2 separate regions of the Homo sapiens genome follow, and region 2 is linked to region 1. The links are contacts of gene promoters, found by promoter capture Hi-C in blood cells and fetal thymus (Javierre and others, 2016). All regions are on one chromosome and are shown on one strand. The core of a region is centred on a gene start or on the middle of the fragment in contact, and the rest is flanking DNA. Distances in the headings are between cores, read along the strand shown. Region 1 holds the start of LINC02939 (long intergenic non-protein coding RNA 2939). Region 2 overlaps GTSE1 (G2 and S-phase expressed 1).

What was found. The method cuts DNA at HindIII sites, captures the fragments that hold promoters and counts their contacts. A CHiCAGO score of 5 or more calls a contact.
Region 2: a fragment that was not itself captured here is called in contact with the fragment with the promoter of LINC02939 in region 1 in 1 of 17 cell types (neutrophils); the score reaches 5.3 in neutrophils.

The regions. Positions count from the first base shown.
Region 1 is chr22:46,068,920-46,073,231 of GRCh38, reverse strand. It overlaps LINC02939 (long intergenic non-protein coding RNA 2939), which reads left to right and starts at 2,211. Exons shown (of 2, transcript NR_148973.1): 1 at 2,211-2,593. All of the region lies in intron 1 of LOC124905135 (collagen alpha-1(III) chain-like), which reads right to left. RefSeq lists enhancers at 189-741, 742-1,296 and silencers at 890-969, 1,140-1,229, 1,310-1,519, 1,650-1,729, 1,790-2,569. The HindIII fragment of the contact is 11,898 bases long and covers 1-4,312 here.
Region 2 is chr22:46,317,099-46,321,410 of GRCh38, reverse strand. The region is part of intron 7 of GTSE1 (G2 and S-phase expressed 1); the gene reads right to left. Among named protein-coding and RNA genes, the nearest start is that of TRMU, 16 kb to the left of the region's middle. The HindIII fragment of the contact is 4,924 bases long and covers 1-4,312 here.

The DNA.
Region 1 (4,312 bases), core at 962-3,461:
AAAGTTACGAATTGTTTTTCGTTTTACACCACCGTAAACAGCAGCTTTCACACAAGGGCCTTTCACTGAACCGGCCCAAATGCCGCCAACGCCGAACCGAGGATCCCCCCTCAAATCAGCTGTCCCCAAGTGTCCGACCAGGGGGAAAAAATCAGCAGCGTGGGTTTAGGAAGTAAATGAAATATTTCAATCTTCCAAGAAAGAGTTGTAGCTTCCCAATAACCTTTCCAAACACATCTCACCAAAAAAAAAAAAAAAAAAAAAAATCTAAAAACAGATGTTTTTTCTTTTCTTCCCATTGTGTTTAAGATGTCTGCTAACGCTTATTTTATGTGTTCAACAAGATTCTCTCTGGCAAATAGCCTGCACACCTGAGATTAGAAGCTGTGCTTCACAAATTCCAAGATCCAGATTAATGCCGAGTGGAGTTCTTGCAAGCTGGTGCGGCTTCAGGTTCAAGAGCAACCTCCTCGGTGCGTTCCCTGGTCTGTGGAAGGCCTGCCCTACGGAAGGGTCCCTCTTAGAGATCCCTTCATTAATATTTAAATACTCACTAAGCAGCGAAAGTGAGAAATGCACTTACCGTCCTCAGGAGTCGCCGTGAACCCGATCGTGACCTGGGGCGCACAGGTCGACAGCCCTGCCCTTGCGGGAGGACCGTGCCTGGCCGCCGCCGGCGCCGCGCTCGCGTGCCCAGAGCTGCACAGGCCCTCAGCTAGCGGTCTGAGTCCTGGGTTCCAAACGCTCACCCTCTTCCCGCGTCGAAGCGGCGGACGGCAGAGCGGTGCCAGTTCCCGCAACTCTTCGCAGGGTGGGACGGCTCTGGACTGCCGCGGGCGAAGCGCACGGCCCAGGCCCCACTTCCCCGGCCCCGCGCCGCGTCTCTCCTTGCCTTCGGGCTCCGGCTTCCCTGCGCTTAGCGACCCGACTGCGCCACAGAGTGGCCCGCAGGACCCGGTCACGGCGTCCGCGCGCCGCAAGGGACCTTTGTCCCAGACGAAAACGAAAGCGCGCCGGCCCCGGGACGCCCACGCCCTGCCGCGGAGAGCCCGGCCGGCGCGCCCCGCGACTTTCTCCAAGTTCACGTGCATTCCGGGGCGGGCGTCGCGAGCCAGGACTTGCAGGGCCGGGCCGTCGGGCGGGCGGTGGGTTGCAGGCGGGCTTGGGGACAGCCCGGCGGGGCGGGCCGGGGCACAATGGGCGCCGCCGGACGGGCGGGCGCGGGGACAGCGTGGGCCCGGCCGCCGCGCGGCCGCTCGTCTGGCGCTGCCCGGGCGCCGAATGCGGCGGCGGCTTGGCACAGACGCGCCGCGCGCCCGGTGCATGCTAATGGCCGGCGGCCGCGCCATGAATTATTCAGCAGCGGCGCGGAGAGGGCGAGCGCGGCGCGGAGGGCGACCCGGGCCGCGCGTCCCCCGCCGCTGCGAAGCCGCTGCGGCGACTTCCCAAACTTTCCCGGGTCGGCACCGAGGATGCGGCCCCCGCGGCGCCGCCGTCCCCGCCCGAGCGCGCCGGCCGCGCTTCCCCCGTTGCCGCCTATTTTATGTCTTTTGTCTCGGAGTTGGCACCTGTCCCAGAGAGCGCGTTTCCCTGCCCACCCCTTCGCCGCCGGATCGGAGCGGGGGAGGGAGTACGGGGAACCCAGGGAGGAGGGGACGGGGAAAGCAAGGCGCCTGCGGGCCCCGCAGCCCGCGGAGACCGCCCGAGAGCGGCGGCGGTGCCCGCGCGCCCGGGCACCCCTGTTCTGCGGGGAGGTCGCGGATGCAACCGCGCCCGGAATACCAACGAGGCCCCCCGCGGCCCCCGCCGTGCCCGCTGCGGGTGAAGACCGGGCGCCGCCCCTCCTGGGTTCCCCCTTCCACCGCCCCCCACCCCGGGACGGCGCGCGCGGGCGGGGCGGGCGGTGCGAGCAGCGGATTCGCCGCCCGGGCCCCGCGCCTCGCCCCGCAGCCCCGCGTGCGCGTCCCCGCGGGCACGCCGCCCCGGGCGCTCCCCTCCAGCGCGCCCCCGCCCCGCGGCCCCTCCCGCCGCCCGCCCCGGGCAAGGGCACCGCGTCGCGGAGACCCAGCGGCCTTCCGTTTCGCGCCCCGGGGCCCGCGCGGCCGAGGCGGGCGGGCGGGCGCGAGCTCCCGGCCCGGCCCGCCCCCGCCGCCCTGGCACCGAGGCGGCTGCTGGGGCGCGCTCGGCGGCTGCGCTCCAAGGCGCCGGCTGCCATGATTGCGGGCAGCGGGACGCGCGCGCACGCTCGGGCCCGGCTCTGGGACCCCTGGCTGACCGACGGTCCCTGCAGTCCCCGCAACCTGGTGCCCGCAGCCCCGAGCGCGCCGCGGACAGCGGTCAGGCTCTCCAGGCTCGTCCCCGCGGGGAACAGTGTGCGCTGCGGAGCTCTCGACGCGGCCCCGGGACAGCGCTCGGGGCCGACGGTGGCAGCGGGCTTCCCCCAGGGCGGAGCGCGCGCACGGGCAACCCCGCGGCGGCTTCCAGGACACCGCCGGCCCCGCGGAGCAAGGGGTGCCCAGAGGGGTGGGAGTCCGGACTCGGCACACGGGAGCCGGCCGGCGGAGGCAGGGGTCAGCGCACAGTGCCGGGAGATGTAAGAGGGGCGCGCAAGGTGCCTGGAGGAGTTGGGTTGGGGGGTGGTTCACGGTGCCCGGGGAGGCGTGGGATGGGCAGGGGCGCGGTGCCTGGAGCCGCTGCCCAGCTCCGAGCGCGCTCTCTTCCTTCCCGGTGGCAACAACTTCCTGCTTCCCCGACTCAGGGCACAGGAGCTTCGGGGAGAAGTTCAAGGCCACAGCTTTGCTCTCTCGGAGCCCGATGGCGACACTGCTGGCCCCGGGCCACACGGTTCCCTCCCAGGCCCTCCCGGTGGTTGAGACCGGCCGGCCTCTAGGGTCCGGACACGGGTTAGAATGCCAAGGAGGCCGCGGCGTCTTTTCCCGCCCGCTCCACAGAGGCGCCTGAGTGGTTCCCAAACCGCAGAGGGGCCGGCCTGGGCCTCCGGCTCTCGGGGACGCACGCGGACACAGAGTCACTATTCGCAGACCCCGTCCCCCTGCCCGAGCATGCCCTGGCCCAGAGCCGCATGGAGCTGATGTCCCCAGACGCCTGCGACGGCCCTTTGGCGGCCAGGGCCCGAGAGAAACAAGGCCTCCCGGGTCCCAACCCAATGTCTGTCTGTGCCTGTCTCCCCCCAACCCCCCGCCGCCGGCCTTGGCATTCTAACCAGTGTCCCTTGACGTCACATCTCGCCATTTCTGCCAACCAATTGAAACTTGCCCGTTGTCATAAAAATATATATACTTTTTATGCCATTGGTAAATTCAAAAGTTCCTCGTGTGCCCTGCTTCCCAGGAAACTTCATTTCACATTGGATTAGACTGCCCAGGAGGGCAACGCTGGGCTGGGGCAGCCGGGCAACTCTGCCAGGGCCTCGCTGCCCACTGAGCTGCCTTCCACAGCTCGCTAGACCCCCATGATTGTGGCTGTGAATTGTGCCAGCCACCCTGATAAACACACCACTGCCTCCACCCCATGACACACGGAATTTGGGGGGAGGGAAGGAAGAACTCAGGGTATGTTAAGAAACCTTCCCAATTGCTTTCCTGGGAGTTGGGGCGGTGGGGACTGGAATCTTACTACAGCATCTTCTTTTTAGAAGCTGAAAGAACTTTAGGGATAGCTTTATTATTTTTTTTTCTATGGGAAAACTCAGTTTTAGAAAATGGAGTAGAAATGTTTTCCAATTAATCTTTTCATTGGAATCCGGACCAACTTTCACTTTCCATAGCTGCCTGGTGGCTTCACTATCGAGTGGGGTGCCCTCTTTTCCTGAGGAAGGTCCTGTGTCTCCCCCTCACCCCCCAGCTCCAAGGGCTGTGGGGCCCAGAGCTGGAAGCTCAGGAGCTCTGTGCTTCCCCAGAAAAGGGCACGGCTCTCTCGGCAGCCTGAGACGCAGACATGCCGTGTCTACCTTCTAGCAATACAGCAGGGGAAATCAATCCTGTCTAGCACAGTGCTTTATCATTTTCTTTCTTCACTATTAAAATTTTCAGCCCCAAATAGGAAGTGTGGGGTGAGAGCACACATTCCCACAGGATGAGTCTGTGCCCAGCAGTGCCCAAAGTCCCACATATGCCCCTGTAGCCCCTCCTAACCCAGCCACACTAAGGCAGAACTCAACCGCTAACTGCTCTATAAACTCCTCCTGTACCCCATCGTTGCTGTATGGTTCAACTACTTTAAAAAACATACTACAGATATTTTGTGGTTTAGCAAGTTTAGGGACTCCAGAAGAACAAAAATGCTTTAGAAA
Region 2 (4,312 bases), core at 960-3,459, 250 kb before region 1:
CTTACAAGAAACAAGGTCTTGCTCTGTCACCCAGGCTGGAGTGCAGTGGCTTGATCACTGCTCACTGCAGCCTTGAACTCCTGGGTTCAAGTAATCTTCCTGCCTCAGTCTCCCAAGTAGCTGGGACTACAGGTGCCCAGCACCATGCCCAGCTAAATGTTTTTGTAGAATCGGGGTCTCACTGTGTCGCCCAGGCTGGTGTTTGTTTTCTTGTATGGAGTGGGGTGGTCTGTGACTAAGTCATCCCATAATCCCTGTCTTTTGGGAACATTCTTGGGTCACTGACCCCGCACCATTCACAGAGGTCTCTGTGAGACCCAAGTTGGTCACTCCTGGCGGGTGTGGAGGCAAGCCCACCTCTCTCTCCCTCGCCGCCTCCCTCTCCCTTGCCGCCTCCCGTGTTGGCTCCCTCTCTCCCGAGACCCCTTCCTCTCGGTTGTCCTCTCCCTCAGCTGGGTGGAGCGCACTCTTCAGCAGCTTCCATGGTGGCACGGGAAGGTCATTCTTATGAAACAGAACACGAACAAGCCATCTCCTGACACCCTCACGACTGCCCTAGGGCTGCCTGAGCACGCACGCCTCCCAGGCCCACATCAGCTCTTCCCTAAACCTGGACGGCGCGTCTCCACTGCAGCTCCCAGTACCGGGGAGGCAAAGCCCACAGCCAGAATTCCAAGTCTCAATCCTCTGGGTGACCCGGCAGCATGGACTCATAGTAAATAGCAACATTTGTAACTGGACTGTTTTACAAAGAATGCTGCTTGCCTCGAGTATTTTGAGAAAGTGCACATATGAAAGCCTCCACTACAGGGCACCGTTCATGTGGTCCCACGCTGTGAGTGCCCTCAGCCCTCACCTCTCCTCCACGGTGACAGCTGGTGTCACAGCCAATGAGCAACACCACCAGTGCTCTCAGCCAAAAAGTGCACACCACCACGTGCCTCCCAGAGCTGTGTGTTCCCAACAGCGTGGCTGCTCCCCTGGGGCCTCTCTTCCGGCCAGTGCTGAGTTTGTGGGACCAGTTTTGACCCTGATGAATGACCAAAGGCGTGCAAGAGACAGTCCTGTTCCCAGCATTGTGGAGAGAGGAGGAACCGCCTGCCGAAGGTGAAATGCACATCTGAGAGGTGCGTAAGGAGACCGCAGGGACACGCTCTGGGAAACAGGGCAAAGCCAACAGGGATTTGGGATTAGCAGAAGTCCTGTGGCATCAAGCAGCCCGACAGCCAGGAGACCAGCCAACACTTGTGCCAACGTGGTCAGGAGAGACATGGCAGACGCATGTCCTGGCTCCAGGCATTCAGGCAGAAGGGAAGCAAACACTACTGAACACACCTCCACATGACCTGGGCCGTAGGGTGTCCCTGCAGAACCCACCCAATCACAGCTCGCATTTCTTTTCTTTCTTTCTTTCTTTTTTTTTTTTTTGAGACAGTCTCGTTCTGTCGCCCAGGCTGGAGTGCAGTGACACCATCTCGGCTCACTACAACCTCTGCCTCCTGGCTCAAGTGATTCTCCTGCCTCAGCTTCCCAAGTAGCTGGGATTACAGGCATGCGCCACCATGCCTGGCTAATTTTTCTATTTTTAGTAGAGACAGGGTTTCACCATGTTGACCAGGCTGCTCTCGAACTCCTGACCTCAGGTGATCTGCTCACCTCGGCCTCCCAAAGTGCTAGGATTACAGGAGTTAGCCACCGTGCCCAGCTCACAGCTCCCATCTCTACAAACTCAGCTCTCTGCTGTTGAAACCTACACTGAGGTCTCCAGCTGTGGCTTCTCCTCTGAGCTCTCAGCCTGCTCCACCCCTCAGCTGCAGCCTAAGTGGCCTCTCACCCTCACTACTTCCAAAATGGGGCCGTGGACTCTGCCCGCTGCCTCTTCCAGCCCTCCTGTCACATGAGTGGCAGCACCCAGGTTCCGCCAGAACCTCAGGGACACTCGAGTCCCTCTCTGCACTGCCACATGAGCCCTAAGCTACCAGAACGTCAGGCAGACCGCAGCGCTCCAGCCTCCTTCCCCAGCACTAGCTTCCTCCCCAACACAGTGAGGGCCAGGTCCGCATTACCCTCCCCACCACTCTTCGGCCCAGAGACTCTGCTCTTCCCTCTGTGGAGGGACCTTCTGAAGGTCAAGTCGCTCTGCTCTGATCTCTCCTATGCACGTCCTCCTGCACTGACGGTACTCCAGGGTCCGCTCTGGTCACGCGGCGCTCTGGGAGCCGGCCTCGGGCTGCCCCTCCATCTTCATCTCTTCTTACCCTGCCCCTCGGTCACTGACTGGCTGAGGTTGCTAGTTTTTGTTCAACAGCAACTTTCCTCTTCTCAGTAAGAAATTTCAGCTGTGTGCGGAATAAAGACAACGTGTCCTAGCATCCTGTGCAGGGAAGCGTCGTACTCAATGGGACACAAACGGAGTCACAGGGACAACTTGCAGTGAGGGTCCTTGAAAGGTGGGGATTTGCTCTTCTTCACCTAGAAGAAGGCTTCCTGCCGGGAGGTATGAGGGCCAGAGCCGGTGCAGCCACACTAGACCATGAGGATGAGAAGCTCATCACGGCAGCACAGGATGGAGTAAGCCTGGGTCCCTGACACCAAGGAGTACTGACCAGCTGTCGCACGTCTACGCAGAATCCCGACCGCAGCGGCTGCACTCCCACCCTCCGGCCCCCATGCTGCTCCCAGAGCACGTCCCACGCCTTCCTGCCCCAGGACCTCTGCACTCCTGCCGTTGCCTCTGCCTGGAGTGCTCCCCCTTGCACTTTCCTACCGGCTGCCTCAGTCTCCTGGTTCAGATCTCAGTCCCGTGTCACCTCCTGACCATCTTTGCCAAAGAACCACCCGATGCAAATTCCTCCCCAAACATGCCAGCTCCAGGACACCATCTTCCCTTAGTCCCTTTGTTGTGCTAGGATCTGCAGGCCTGCTCATCTGATAACATTTCGTATCTTTTCCTATTAAACAGAAATTCTGTGAGAGTAGGTCTGTCTTATCATGATGTCCCTTGTCCCCCAAAGCATTCCAGCACAGAGAAGACACTCAGCAGAACAGCTTGTTCCTACAGCAGGACTCAGAATGCAGTTTCTGGGAGTTGCAGGCTGCCTGTGCTGGCCGGCACTGCCAGAACTTAAAATCCTCAAGCACCCAGAGGGCAGATCTGCCTGACAGAGGAGGCCAGGACGCTCCTCTCACCTTAAGTCAGCTCTGAGAACTTTCTGCATTGCACACAATTGTTCAAGAAATTCATGAAAACTTTACAAACACCCACCCACTAATGGCCAGACACCTGCTGGGGCCAGTGGCCTCACTGACTGGAGAAGGCAGTGGCTGGAGCTCAGGAGGCTGAGGTGGCTGCAATCTGAGGGCCAGAAACTAGAGAGGAGGGGGCTACTCCGACAGAACGAGCTCTAGGAACCCAAGGGAATCTCGAGTCTCTGGCTGAGCACCAGGCAGTGCACAGGTGCAGGGCAGGAGTCCTCAAGGTCAAGAGAAGAGCAACTACCAGGGAGCAACGAGCGGAGCTCACAGGGCCGAGAAACCGCCGTCTTACCAGGGAGCAACGAGCGGAGCTCACAGGGCCGAGAAGGTGTCATCTTGCAGCAGCAGGAGTGCAGGGGTCTCGCGGGCCTTGCGGGACACACGGGTGTGCAGCAGAGGCCTTGGGAAGGACGCCGGTGGCGGGAGGCGGAAAGGCTATGCTAGACCCACCACTTCAAAGCATAAAAAGCCTCGGAAGGATGATCTGCACCTTAACTGCCTGCCAAGCCCAACCCAACTCCTCAGAGAAAGACAACAAAATCCAGACATTCAAAAGTGTACACCTGACAATATCCAACAACCAAGAAAAACTTGTGAAAAATGTAGAGGCAGGAAAATGAGGCCAAAACCCGGAAACAAAATTAGTCAGTCGAAACAGACCCCAAAATGATGGGGAAGATGGTATGAGAAGAATCGTAGACCCTAAAACCATTATCAATTTGCTCACGAGGATGTAAAAGAAAACCCAAGTACCATGAGAAGAAATAAGGGGAAACTATTATGTTAGAAACAAAGTTAACTGGATGGGCTTCACAGCTGTTAGGCACTGCAGAAGAAATGATATCTGACAACAGAAACTACCCAAACTGTAGCTCAAGGAAAAAGGCTGGGCCGGGCACGGTGGCTCACACCTATAATCCCAGCAGTTTGAGAGGCCGAGATGGGTGGGTCACTTGAGGTCAGGAGTTCCAGACCAGCCTGGCCAACATGGCGAAACCCCGTCTCTACCAAAAATACAAAAAAAAAATTAGCCGGGTGTGGTGGTGGGCACCTGTAA